3 separate regions of the Homo sapiens genome follow, and all the other regions are linked to region 3. The links are contacts of gene promoters, found by promoter capture Hi-C in human tissues and cell types (Jung and others, 2019). All regions are on one chromosome and are shown on one strand. Each heading gives the region's core, a stretch centred on a gene start or on the middle of the fragment in contact. The rest is flanking DNA. Distances are from core to core; before and after follow the strand shown. Region 1 overlaps DRC1 (dynein regulatory complex subunit 1). Region 2 has its middle 14 kb from the start of RAB10. Region 3 holds the start of HADHA (hydroxyacyl-CoA dehydrogenase trifunctional multienzyme complex subunit alpha).

Region 1 (4,754 bases), core at 674-3,173, 160 kb before region 3:
TTTGAGCTCCCTCCCTCCTGGGGGCTGAGTCCTCTTTTGGGAAGCTGTTTCCTCACCACCGCCCCATGTTTGTGGTCTAAATGGGAGCTGCCATCTTGAATACTCTACTTCCTGACCAATTCTCAGGATTTAAAAAAATTGGAACTTGGTTGATTGTCTACCTGGGTTTAGAGTTCTAGGTTGGAAATAACTTTCCTTCACTGCTTCCTTCCAGTGTTGCTAACTGAGAAACCTGAAGTCATTCTGTCTTTATGCCTTTCTTTGTATGTGACCATATTTTTGTTTTTTATATGTGACCATGTTTTTGTTTTGTTTTGTTTTGTTGTGTTTTGTTTTGTTTCACTCTGGAAGCTCGTAGGCCCTTTCTCTTTATTCTCAGTGTTCTGAACTTTCTCAATGGTGTGCCTTAGGGTGGGTCTATTTTCATCCATTGTGCTAGACATTTCAATCAGGAACCTCATGATCTTCAGGTCTGAGACATGTTCTTGAATTCTTTCCATGATAATATGCTCCCTGCTCCATTCTTTCTGGATCTAGAAAAGTGATAATATCTTCTAATTAAAAAAAAATATTTTTCTCTGGCTGGGTGCAGTGGCTCATGCCTGTAATCCCAGCACTTTGGGAGGCCAAGGCGGGTGGATCACCTGAGGTAAAGAGTTCGAGACCAGCCTGGCCAACATGGTGAAACCCTGTCTCTACTAAAAATACAAAAATTAGCCGGGCATAGTGGCAGGTGTCTGTAATCCCAGCTATTTGGGAGGCCAAGGCAGGAGAATTGCTTGAACCCAGGAGGCAGAGGTTGCAGTGAGCCGAGATCATGCCATTGCACTCCAGCCTGGGCAACAAGAGTGAAACTCCGTATCAAAATTAATAATAATAATAATAATAATAATAATAATAATAATATTTTCTCTATAAGTTTCTACCTTTTTTCTTTGCGCTCTATTTTCTAGGTGATTTCATCATCTTTATTTTCCAACCCTTCTAATGTTTTCTATTTCTATAATTTTTTTATTTCTAAGAGCTCTATTTTTTTTCTCTGAACACTCCTTTTAGTAGCATTCTATTCTTGTTTCGTGGTTGCCATATCATCTCTTTTTTCTTTGAGGATCTTTTTTTTCCCTCTTTTTCCCCCAAAGACTTCAAAACTCTCTCTGAGGATCTGAATGATCATCTTTTTGTGGTATTCTTGTTTTTTTCTCCCCACATATAGTCTTAATGTCCTCTTAGGTGCTTTTTTCTCTTTGTTAATTTTCATATCTACCATTCATGTTAAAGACTTTCCTCAGATGCCTAGAAATCCTCAGTTACTGACTCATGACAAGAACTAAAAAGCCTATGAAAAAATTAAAACATGGGTTAAAAATAAATAAACACTGTTTTACGTGGAAAAAATCAAGCTAATGATAAAACAACTCTTATGAGGTAGCTTTTAAAGCTGTTTTCACTTATATCATGTAATTTTAGAACTTTGAGTTCCATTATTCTAGTTGTTGCTGAATGTGTCTATTGCTCTTATTTTCAAAATGTTCTCCAAATTCTTGCCTATCTTGTCTGAGATGTACCAAAGACCTAAAGCTATAAGTATAATGGTAACTTCCATGACAACTTGGGAAAAGGATACTAATACTACCAATTTTACATGTCACCATCTTCACAGTAGCTACCTAGTTGTTGTTAAAGAAACAGCTGCCTTTAAAAAAAAACTACATAAAGGATGGTTTGTTTTGGTTATGTGTACATAAACACACCTGATTATACAGAATCCAAGAATTTAGAGAAAATAAGGACAAATTAGTATCATTTCAATCTAAGTCCCTAGCCATTTGGAAGCTTGTAATATGGTGTCAGGATAAAGCAGAAAAAATAAATTTTAATAGTGTGACAAATAAAAATTTAAACATTAAAAACAAGCTGATGGGGCTGAGCACAGTGGCTCATGCCTGTAATCCCAGCACTATGGGAGGCCAGGGCAGGAGGACCACTTGACCCAGGAGTTTAAGACTAGCCTGGGCAACATAGCAGGACTCCATCTCTAAAAAAAAAAAAAAAATTAGCCGGGCATGGTGGCCTGCACCTGTAGTGCCAGACACTCAGGAGGCTGAGGCAGGAGGACTGCTTGAGCCCAGGATTCAAGGTTATACTAAGCTATGATCAAACCACTGCACTCCAGCCTGGGCAATGGAGTGAGACTCTGTTGCTTAAAAAATAAATAAATAAATAATAAAAATAAATTTTTTTTAAAGCTGACGGGAGCTGTGAGTACAAGGGTGTGGCTTAACAACTGTGCATGTCAGCGTGGGCTGATTTAATCGGGCTGCTTTGTGAGCAAACCCGATGTTAGTGTCTTTATTATTTTTATTTTATTTTATTTTATTTTTGAGACAGAGTCTCCCTCTGTCACCCAGGCTGGAGTGTAGTGGCACGATCTCGGCTCACTGCAACCTCCGCCTCCCAGGTTCAAGCAATTCTCGTGCCTCAGCCTCCCAAGTAGCTGGGATTACAGGCATGCACCACCACGCCGCTAATTTTCATATTTTTAGTAGAGACGGGGTTTTACCATGTTGGCCAGGCTGGTCTCAAACTCCAGACCTCAGGTTATCCACCCCTCTTGGCCTCCCAAAGTGCTGGATTACAGGCATGAGCCACTGTGCCCAGACCAACATTAGTGTCTTTAAATCCTTCTTTTGGGGCTGGTCGGATTCCACAGAGAAACTTCTCCAGCCTCCTGCCTGGAATATGAAGGCTGAAGTGCCACCATTCCAGGAACTGGTGAGAGGAGAGCTGGAAGGTCCTGGCATCCACTGTGCATATTTTCCCTGAATCCCCTTATTTTCCATGAAGTATCCTTGCCTCGCCTCTGTCTAGCATCCCCCAAGCCCTAGATCCTCCGCTTGACTTTCTCCAAACCTCCAATCTTCTGTGCAAAGAGAGAGAAAGGTTCTAGGCATCTACCTATTAATTTTCCAATCGGTTGTCCTTATTTTGGTTCCCTTTGTCACCTCCACTTCTAGATGTCAACTGAAAAAGAGTCAGAATCCACAAAATCAAAAGAGAACTTTATTTCTAAAGGACACAACCTGCAGGCAGGAAGCAAGCTTTCAACTGAGACTGAGAAGCAGGCTTTGAAGGGGAGAAAATAAGGCAGATATTTCTGCTAGGTGAGGAGGTAGGAAACGCATATTCTACAGGATATAGGAGAAGGTTGTGAATATTTACGGAGAAAACTCATTACGCACGTGCATTAGGCTTACATGTGCACGGAACATACAACAATATGCTACTCATGTTCACTTTGGGGTGGAGATTTAACATTTAAATGTACTACAATTGGGTCATAAATGCAAAAAGGTGATGCTTAGGGCACAAGTCCAGGATCTGTGCAGTCTCAGGGAACCGGTCCAAACTGGCCTGAAGTTGGCAGTCGTCCAGGAAGAGGTCTCTGTGGTCCAGGGTTGTTGTCAGGTTGGAACCATAAACATGAGGAGGAGGGTGCCGGGTGGTCGGACGAAGTAAGCCAAGGAGTCTTCTGGCCTTTTGTCATCTTCAGGTCAGCCTTTGATAAGACCTCATAATAATTAGTAAAGGGACGGGGGTAGCAGGAAGTGGACATGTCCAGTCTCCTGTCACTGCTAAGGGCTAAGAACTTTGAGGTCTCTCGGCCACAGAGGTCCTGTCACTCCATTGGAAGGGCCATAGGATTTTTTAAATCCTCACGGATGAATATGATATGCCATCAGTCTCCTAGTCTTTGGGGATTTAGTGCAGAGTAAATCAAGGGGGTTCTCAGCTTTCTTCACTATCAGCTTATTTTTCCATCTTCTTGAATCTGCTCACCCATTTACCATCTATCTTGTGCTTCCCAGCATCCACAATTTCATTGCTGTTGAGTCCTCCTGATCTTGACTTTGTGGATTTGCGTCTTTTTTACTTAATCCCCTTAAATATCATTTTAATGGAGTTAAAATGATAGAGATCTAAGGTAGATGTATGTGTTCCATCTCGCATCTTTACCCAGAAGTGACATCTCCCGGCTGGGTGTGGTGGCTCACACCTATAATCCCAGCACTTTTCGAGGCTAAGGTGGCAGGATCACTTGAGCTCTGGAGTTCAAGACCAGTCTGGGCAACATGGTGAAACCCCATCTCTACCAAAAATACAAAAAATTAGCGGGGTATGGTGGTGTGCACCTGTGGTCCCAGCTACTCGAGAGGCTGGGGTGGGGGGGATCACTTGAGTCTAGCTGGTGGAAGTTGCAGTGAGCCAAGGTCACACCACTGCATTCCAACCCGGGTGACAGAGTGAGACCCTGTCTCAAAAAAAAAAAAAAAAAAAAAAGGAAAGTGACATCTCCCAGAAATGTCAAACCTAAACTAAGACACCAGAGATTGGGAGTATCAGGGCCATTAGCACATTATTCCTATTCTTTTTGGTTTTTTTGAGAAGGAGTCTCGTTCTGTCATCCAGGCTGGAGTACAGTGGCTCGATCTTGGCTCACTGTAACCTCCACCTCCCGGTGTTCAAGCAATTCTCATGCCTCAGTCTCCTGAGTAGCTGGGATTACAGGAGTGTGCCACCAAGCCAGGCTAATTTTTTGTCTTTTTAGTAGAGACAGGGGTTTCACTATGTTGGCCAGGCTGGTCTCGAACTCCTGGCCTCAAGTGATCCACCCACCTCAGCCTCCCAAACTGCTAGGATTATAGGCGTGAGCCACCACGCCCGGCTGTACTCTTTATATGACATTTGATTCTGTT
Region 2 (4,805 bases), core at 265-2,764, 220 kb after region 3:
AAATTACAAACAACAACTTTCTTTTATGAGGTTTCACACATGTTTAATAACATACATCAAACATATTACACATGAAACCTATGGAAGAAGAAGGCAATGAGAGGGAAGAAGGGGGAAAAATAGGCTGGGTACAGTGGCTCACGCCTGTAATCCCAGCACTTTGGGAGGCCGAGGCGGGCTGATTACCTGATGTCAGGAGTTCAAGACCAGCCTGGCCAACATGATGAAACCCCGTCTCTACAAAAATACAAAAATTAGCTGGGCATGATGGCAGGTGCCTGTAATCCTAGCTACTCGGGAGGCTGAGGCAGGAGAATTGCTTGAATCTGGGAGGTGAAGGTTGCATTGAGCCGAGATCGTGCCATTGCATTCCAGCCTGGGCGACAGAGCGAGACTCTGTCTCAAAAAAAAAAAAGAAGGGGGAAAAATATAAAATGAGTAGGACCTTGCACAGACCACATAGTCAGTGGTCAATGTGCTAGAAAGTGAGGAATGTGATTAACTCAGTGCTCAGCATCCCAGATCTAAATTTTTAAACAAATTGAGAAGATCAAATTGCACATGGAGGTAGATGACATTGATATTGATACTCTTTATAGTTATCATTTGCAGAAAAATATCAAAATGAGAAGAAAAACCCTAAATATTTGGTTTGGATCAATACAAAAAATATAGATTCTGGCTGTTTCTTTTATGCCTAACTGCCACATAGCATAACAATAGTCATGCAAATTTAAAAATGTGACAGATTTATTTCATCATATGAACTTGGCCATGGACTTTATGGAATTGTCAGTTTCTGAAGCTTGGTGCTCAACTCTCAGCTGTCAGCTCTTTCCCCTCCCTGTCTGGTGCTAGCTGTTTGGAAAAATCCAGTTATTTGCAAGCTACCTCACCTTTTTCCTGGAGCCAGAGAAAGAGTAGAAGTATAGGTTATCAAAAGCCCTTACACACCTGCTAATTGAGTCAGTCACTGTCAAGACAATATCTAAAAGCAGCCATCTCTGTTGGCCAAAATACCTCCAAGAAAAATAACTTAGGGGCCGGGCGCAGTGGCTCACACCTGTAATCCCAGCACTTTGGGAGGCCAAGGTGGGCGGATCACGAGGTCAGAAGATCGAGACCATCCTGGCCAACATGGTGAAACCCTGTCTCTACTAAAAATACAAAAAATTAGCCGGGCATGGTGGTGTGCGCCTGTAGTCTCAGCTACTGCAGAGGCTGAGGCAGGAGAATCGCTTGAATCTGGGAGGTGGAGGTTGCAGTGAGCTGAGATCGCGCCACTGCACTCCAGCCTGGGTGACAGAGCAAGATTCTGTCTCAAAAAATAATAATAATAACTTAAAGGAGTATAATTTTACTGTTTGTAACTCAAAGGATAAATGCTTGGGGGGATGGATACCCCATTTTCCATGATGTGCTTCTTTCACATTTCATGTCTGTATCAAAACACCTCATGTACCCAATAAATATATACACCTACTATGTACCCACAAACATTGAAAATAAAAATAAAAGAAAAAATACTCCCAAGAGGAAGCCAGACTTTTGCCCATGTAGCTTATGCATTCAGGGTTCCACTACCTTTTGCCCTCCCTCAGGGCACTGGTGTCCACAGGGCAAACCTGCCCTGTGTCCTTGAAGGCCAAATAGGGATGCTATTTCTTTCTTTCTTTTTTTTTTTTTTCTTTTTTTGAGATGGAGTCTTACCCAGTCGCCCAGGCTGGAGGGCAGTGGCACAATCTCAGCTCACTGCAACCTCCACCTCCCGGGTTCGAGTCATTCTTCTGCCTCAGCCTCCTGAGTAGCTGGGATTACAGGTGTACAGCTACACAAAGAAGCAGGCACAGTGAGGGCGACTGAGAGCAGTAGCACTTGGTTTCTGGGCCACCTCTGGACCCCAGAGCTGGATGGGATCCCAAGTCCAGTGCTGGCCACCATGGTGCTATAGGCTACAGAATCTCTTTGGGGTCCGGCAGGGGCAGTGATGGACTCACTGCTTGGCCTAACAGACTGAATCTGTGGCCTGTTGCTTTCCCCAGATCCCTGAGCCTGTTTCTCTAGCCTTCCCAGTAATTCTGAGAGCTTCCCAATAGCCTTTCAGTAAATGTATGTTCTGCTTCTAAATGCCAAATATCAGTTTCTGTTGCAACCAAAACCCGTGACTGATACACTTGTTTCTGGTAAAATTCCCAGGATGACTCCAGCTCTACCTGACATTTGTGCACGTCCACTTCCTCTTTCCCACCTTCTGCTGACCTTGCCACTTGAATGTGCTGCACCTCTGCTGAAACTTGGCTCCTGCCTGCCCTCCAAGGCTGCTGCAGCCTCGGTTCCTCTTTCCTGGGTCTCCACTGCCTCTTTCTAGCCCCCTCTACCCCAGGTTCAGGTGACCTGTGCTCCCAGCCCATCCTGAGGCCTAGACAGGTTGGGCAGTCATCCTAACCCTGTCATGATGTCAGCAGTGGGCCTCGTGCTGGCAGGGCAGAGTCCTCAGATGCTGGAAGGGAGGGTCACCAGGAGGAAAGAGGGACACAGGCAAAGAGATAGGAAAGTTGCAGAGGCTCCCTTTTTTGTTTGTTTGCTTGTTTGTTTGTTTGCTTGTTTTGAGACTCAGTCTTGCTCTGTCCAGGCTGGAGTGCAGTGGCACCATCTTGGCCCACTGCAACCTCTGCCTCCTGGGTTCAAGCTGATTCTCCTGCCTCAGCCTCCCGTGTAGCTGGGATTACAGGTGTGTGCCATCACACCCAGCTAATTTCTTTTTAGGCGGGTCTCACTCTGTCACCCAGGCTGGAATACAATAGCTCAATCATAACTAACTGTGGCCTCAAACTCCTGTGCTCAAGTGATCATCCTGCCTCAGCCTCCCAAGTAGCTGAGATTACAGGTGTGAGTCACTACACCCAGCTAATTTTTTTTTTTTTTAAGTGGAGATGGGGTCTCACTATGTTTCCCAGGCTGGTCTTGAACTCCTGGCCTCAAGCAGTCCTCCTGCCTCAGCCTCCCAAAGTTCTGGAATTAGAGGCGTGAGCCACCATGCCTGGGGTATTTTTATATTTTATCTAACAACATGAGTTTTCATTTATGGAGTTCCTGCATTGTTCTGGCCCTTTAGAGGCATGACTTCACAATAATACATTGATGTAGGAACTATGATCATCCCCATTTTCAGATGAAGAAACAAGTGTTTAAATAGGTTAAAAGAGGCCGGGCATGGTGTCTCACACCTGTAATCCCAGCACTTTGGAAGACCAAATCTGGCACATTGCTTGAGGCCCAGGGTTCAAGACCAGACTGGGCAACATGGTGAAACCCCGTCTCTACAAAAAATACAAAAATTAGCAGGGCAAGGTGGTATGCACCTGTAGTCCCAGCTGGTAGGGAGGCTGAGGTGGGAGGATTGCTTGAGCCTGGGAGGCGGAGGTTGCAGTGAACCGAGATTGCACCACCACACTCCAGCCTGGGCAGCAGAGCAAGACTCTATCTCAAAAAAAAAAAAAAGAAAAGAAAAGAAAAAGATGTGAAAAGACATGGAAGGTGGGGTGCAGTGGCTCATGCCTGTAATCCCAGCACTTTGGGAAGCTGAGGCGAGTGGATCACCTGACATCAGGAGTTCGAGACCAGCCTGGCCAATATGGTGAAACGCCATCTCTACTAAAAATACAAAAATTAGCCAGGCATGGTGGCGGGCACCTGTAATCTCAGCTACTCAGGAGGCTGAGGCAGGAGAATCATTGAACCCAAGAGGAGGAGGCTGCAGTGAGCTGAGATTGCACCACTGCACTCCAGCCTGGGCAACAGAGCAAGACTCCGTCTCAAAAAAAAAAGAAAAAAAGAGATGGAATGTGATGATGCCTGGTATTTCCTTCAAAATAAGTGGGAGCAAAGGGGATAAGTAGAGTATAGATGAAATAAAGTTACAGTGGGTTAATGATTATTCAAGCTGGATAATGAGTATATGGAGGTTCATCATACTAATGTGTGTCATTCATATATATTTGAAGCTTTCCATAATTAAAAGTTGTTTTTAGTCTGATCTAAGTCATACAACTATAAATGATGAAATTAGGTTTTGATCCCAGGCCCTCCTAACTTCAGAGCCTGCTCTCTTAACCTCTATGCTGGATACCTGGCAAGGTGCCTAAAAAGAGCTAAGCAGAAAAGATAAGTGATTTTCAGAGAATTCAGAAGGGATTTGGAAGCCTCTCAATTAATTTCTGCTCCGTTTTCTAGGTACTTCATGGGAAGGATCAACATAAGTAGAGCCAGATATTAATACCCCTCACCCAGAGCTTCTTATACAGAAGATGCCCTCCTTTTTTCTGCCTGCTTCTGAGTAGGTGCAGAAGCACCCATGAGAGAGTGGTTGGCAGCCAAAGTTTTCTAAAAACACCCAGGCAACAGCTGTCCTTGGCTGTCACCTGACTCACCAGGCCCTGAGTCAGCACCACTCCCCGACACAGCCTCCCCTGCTGAGCCAGATCTGACCTGCCCTTTCCTGGCTGAGCTGAACTAGTTGGGCCAGCCCAGCCCTGCACTATCCCAGCATTCTCCTCAGTGGGCAGCTTCTTGCTCCCTTACATGCATCTGGAGTTCCCACCCATGTGCTACCCTTGTCATCCAGGGCAGCAACCATATGCCTGAAACTCTAGCTCTGAAGAGAGCTAAAAGGCCCGCTCCATGTCCTCAGAGGCATGAACAGGGATCTGGAATCTGTGTCTGGATACAGATGACATAGGATGGCCTGGGCGCCAGCATCTTCCACCATCTGCAGAGGAAAGTCTTCCCTCTCTGGGTATCTCTGG
Region 3 (4,403 bases), core at 1,361-3,860:
GGGTAGGATCGAGTTGGTTAGGGTAAGCCTGAGTAAGGTGTGAACTATGGAAAGATACACGAAGCTGCAGGCACCTGGGAGCAAGGGAAAGGAAGAAGAGTCTAGGCAAGTAATGAAAACAAAAGCAAGATGGGGTGGCTCTAACAGCTCATTATTACAACTTTGAAACACAACGTAATGGTTAAGAGAACTAAAGCCAGACTATGTCCAAATCCTGATTCACCCTAGCTGTATGACTTTAAGCCAGTTACTTAACCACATAGGACGCGCACGCGCACACACACACACGCACGCACACCCACGTGCACACACCACTTAAAACAGTGCTTGATACACAGTTAGGGGTATACCTGTGTTTGCTATTACCAGTAGAGATGGTGATACAAATGTACTGTTTCCCTCTATATAAACCATTGGACTAAAGTGCTTAGGGATCAAAGAAACATTATAACATTTCTGCCCTGATGGAGCTTAGTTTTGTAGAGAAAGCACAGGGAGCAAAAAAATGGAGCCAAATGAGTGATCTAAATCAGGGATTGGCAAACTACAACACACGGGCCTCTAGCTAAAAATAGTTTTTCACATTTTTAAAGAGTTGTAAGGTCGGGCGTGGTGGCTCACACTTGTAATCCCAGCACTTTGGGGGGCAGAGGTGGGCGAATCACCTAAGGTCAGGAGTTCGGGACCAGGCTGGCTAACATGGTGAAACCCCGTCTCTACTAAAAATACAAAAAATTAGCCCGGCGTGGTGGTGTGCGCTTGTAATCCCAGCTACTCGGGAGCCTGAGGCAGGAGAATCACTTGAACCCGGGAGGAGGCTGCAGTGAGCCAAGATCGCGCCACTGCACTCCAGCCTGGACAACAAGAGCAAAACTGTCTCAAAAAAAAAAAAAAGTTGTAAACAAAACAAAACAAAAGAAACAATATATAACAGAGACCAAAGTGATCCTGCAAATCCTGAACTATTTACTGTCTGGACCTTTAACAACAACAACAAAATTTACCACTTCTGACCTAAATAATAAGTGTTACACGCAGTTAGGTGTTGAAGAAAGCATTACATGGGCAGGAGGCAGGCTCTGAACTGTAAAAACCTTGTAAGATTATCAAGAATCCTTTTTGCAATTTATTCAGAAGTGGTCAGGTCATCCAGTTTCTGCTTAAAGTGCTCACATGATGAGCACTCACTATGCAACTTGAGCTTTAAACAGAAACCTCTCTACTCTGTCTCTATACTCATTTCAGTCTTAACTTCGATGCCCCTTGTTTCCTGTCCTGCAGAGCTGTCAGTCTGGCGAGTAGTGAGACTCAGACTTATGTCTGAATGCTAGGTCTGTCACAGACTAGAAAATGTATATATTCTGAGCTTCCCAAACTTCATCTAGAAAATGCAAATGATAATAATTTGGGGAATGTGAGGACTAAACAAAAAGGTATGAAGGTGACCAGAGCACAGCAGGCTCTCAATGTGACTTCCTTTTGAAATCAATCACTTTATTCCAGGACTCCAGCCCATCATTCCAGCACAAAAACAGCTACCATGCAATGAAGAACTCTTCACTAGGAGTTAGTAGACTTAGGCTCCAGTCTTATTTCTACTACATATGGCCATGGGTAAAATCACTCTCTCTGATTCGTAGGCAGTTTCTTCACCGCTTAAGTGAGCTGAGGTGTGAACGACCAGATAGATAATCATCCAGATCGGAAAACCCCCGAGAGCGCAGGATTATCTGGATAACGGAGCCGGATGGAGGATTGTCTCCGTTCCTCCCACACTCAAGCCCCGAAAGGTCACCTGACCTAGTCTTATTCTTTACAGCAGAAATCGGGCAAACCCATGGCGCCGTCCACAATCTCTATAGCCGCCGACCTGGGTACAGGGGAAGCAGGCGAAACAACACACACTTCTACGCAGACCAGGGTTACATTAAGGCCGACGCCCACACACGCCCACACACACCCACACACACACACACACCCCCACACCCCCAGACTTCGTTAACTTGTGATGATAAATTAGGGCGCAGGTGACACTACTGTCCCGAACTTCAGCTGGAACGCTAGTCCAAGTCACTGTCCTAACTGCAGCTAGCACTGCCGACCTTGTCCGAGGAGTTTCCTTCCGCTCCCTCAACTCCCACTTTCCCAGGGAGGGGAGGGGGCCGGGGGCACCGGCGACAGTTGCGGGGAAGGAAGTGGAATCTCGCCTTTGGGAAAGCCCGGGCGGAGAGCTGAGGGCTCGCCGTCTCACCTTGGCTGACGTCCGCGAGGACTCCCTCTCGGAGCAAGGTTCAGGTCCAAGTACCAAGGCTCTGCGGGACCAAGGGGCGGGTCCTGCCCAGAAAGGGCCCCTCACCCCGCGGGCGGTCAGGGCCGTTCTTGAGGGCTGCCCTCCGGCCGCCTGACTGGAAAACCAGGCACTCCACCCCCTCCTCTCCGGGCCCCCGTCCTCCCCCGGAGAATACGACCTTTCGGCCATGTTAGCCAGGAGCGAGGGGCAGGGCTAAGGGGCCGGCGGCCACTCGGCATCTGGGTTTTAGTCAGGCAGTGCTCCAGGCGCCTGGCTGCCAGGCTACGGGAGAAAAGTCCTCCGCTCGGCCGCACCCGTTAGAGGCGCTCTCCACTGCTGTCCTCTTCAGCTCAAGATGGTGGCCTGCCGGGCGATTGGCATCCTCAGCCGCTTTTCTGCCTTCAGGATCCTCCGCTCCCGAGGTGAGGCCTGGCCGAGGGCATCCCAGACCTCCGGGCAGAACTCCTGCCGGGACTGGGGTGGCCCCGGAGCCGCGTCTCCCTTTCGCTGCCGCCTGCCCCAGCCCGGAGACGCAGCCCTCTGTGGGGATACTGCCCTGGGACCCGGTTTCCCGTGACCTTCTGAAGAGACTGTCACTTCCCCTCTCACGACTCCTGCGGCGATTTCAGGCTTCCTAACTCCCCAACTTTCTGAGTCTGGTGCCACTCGTTCTGTCACCTTTCCGCGGGTCTCTTGCGTCGCACTTCTGGGCTCACGCCCCTCATATTTTCTTGATCCGGAGTTCCAGGAGAATCGGGATCCATTCTGTCGCATCTTTGTGGCTCCACAGCACCTTGCCCCGCAACAAGAGCTGTCTTAAAAACAGCACCTTACCCCGCAACAAGCGCTGTCTTGTATGGGATTAATCAGCCTTGCAGATCACTGCCCCTCCCTGCTCCGTTCCCTCAAAACCATTTTTGTGCTTACTACCCCAATCAAGTAGGGAGCTCAACTCTTGCAGTTTCAGTAATGTCAGTGTGAACGTATAGTATTTTGAATTTCAGCGGGAAGTTCTGCAACTTACTGGAAGACACACTTTAAAAATACGCTAATACCTCTACCTTAAGCAATAAAATGTTAGATCGTTCTGAGAACGATTTGTAATCTGATGATTCCCAGTCAGCCTGTATTAGCTAGTGTTTTTCCTTTTCAAACTGGCAGTGAAAGGGTTAAAGTGGGTGGTTGTAGGAAACGTTGCATTTTCTTTCCATCCCAAATCTGTAAAGTCAAAAGTGGACAACGTTTTATTGCATGTTGTGCTTAATAAGTTACTTAACTAGAAATTTTAACTTTTAATTTAATTTGTAATATGAATTACCTCTCTTCCCTCTTCCGGAACCGCTGAAGTAGTATGCTTTTTTTAGACAAGTAGCTGAAATCCCTTACTGTAAGGGGATTTTTTTAATGATTGAATATTTTTCTGCTCCCTTTTTTCAACAGCTGTTTTTAGTCTCCACAAAACTGTAGCATGTATTTGCCAATTATAACATAAGCACATTATAGAACATTGAAATGCTGTAAGGATTGAGGAAAGAGATGAAAAAAAAACGAATCACCCATTGTCTTACTACTCATATGCTTACCTACGGTTAGCCTTCGGTTATGTTTCCTTACAGGTTTGGTGGTTTTTTTCCCCTATTTTCACAACACTTTTGAAAAGTAACGTGTAATTTTTATCTTACCCCTGCATTGGTTTGAAGGTATTTCTTATGGATCGGCAGCTGATGTCACTCGGAAGTGGTAGCCAGGGCACGTGGTTCTAGTCACTAGCTGTGTTACTTTGGACAAATGCCTTAAACTAAATGGGCTTTATTTTCCTCATCTGCAAAATGAATGATTGAGATGATGGATTTCCTTTGCATGAGAAGTAGCATGACAGAGCAATTAATAAACATTGTTTGGGCCGGGTGCGGTGGCTCACGCCTGTAATCCCAGCACTTTGGGAGGCCCAGGCGGGCGGATCACGAGGTCGGGAGATCGAGACCATCCTGGCTAACACGGTGAAACCCCGTCTCTACTAAAAATACAAGAAATTAGCCGGACGTGTTGGTGGGCGCCTGTAGTCCCAGCTACTCGGGAGGCTGAGGCAGGAGAATGGCGTGAGCCCGGGAGG

Evidence for each region. Contacts are between HindIII fragments. The study calls those that stand out against the background at their distance.
Region 1: a contact is called between a fragment that was not itself captured here and the fragment with the promoter of HADHA in region 3, in 1 of the 25 tissues and cell types used here (spleen).
Region 2: a contact is called between a fragment that was not itself captured here and the fragment with the promoter of HADHA in region 3, in 2 of the 25 tissues and cell types used here (adrenal gland and spleen).

Annotation. Positions count from the first base shown.
Region 1 is chr2:26,406,398-26,411,151 of GRCh38, reverse strand. All of the region lies in intron 1 of DRC1 (dynein regulatory complex subunit 1), which reads right to left. Among named protein-coding and RNA genes, the nearest start is that of DRC1, 6.9 kb to the right of the region's middle. The HindIII fragment of the contact is 4,264 bases long and covers 1-4,055 here.
Region 2 is chr2:26,017,948-26,022,752 of GRCh38, reverse strand. No RefSeq gene overlaps it. Among named protein-coding and RNA genes, the nearest start is that of RAB10, 14 kb to the left of the region's middle. The HindIII fragment of the contact is 6,969 bases long and covers 1-4,805 here.
Region 3 is chr2:26,242,839-26,247,241 of GRCh38, reverse strand. It overlaps HADHA (hydroxyacyl-CoA dehydrogenase trifunctional multienzyme complex subunit alpha), which reads left to right and starts at 2,610. Exons shown (of 20, transcript NM_000182.5): 1 at 2,610-2,712. The coding sequence starts at 2,646. It overlaps HADHB (hydroxyacyl-CoA dehydrogenase trifunctional multienzyme complex subunit beta), which reads right to left and starts at 2,303. Exons shown (of 16, transcript NM_000183.3): 1 at 2,252-2,303. RefSeq lists enhancers at 548-1,275, 2,134-2,233, 2,088-2,768, 4,254-4,403. The HindIII fragment of the contact is 15,994 bases long and covers 1-4,403 here.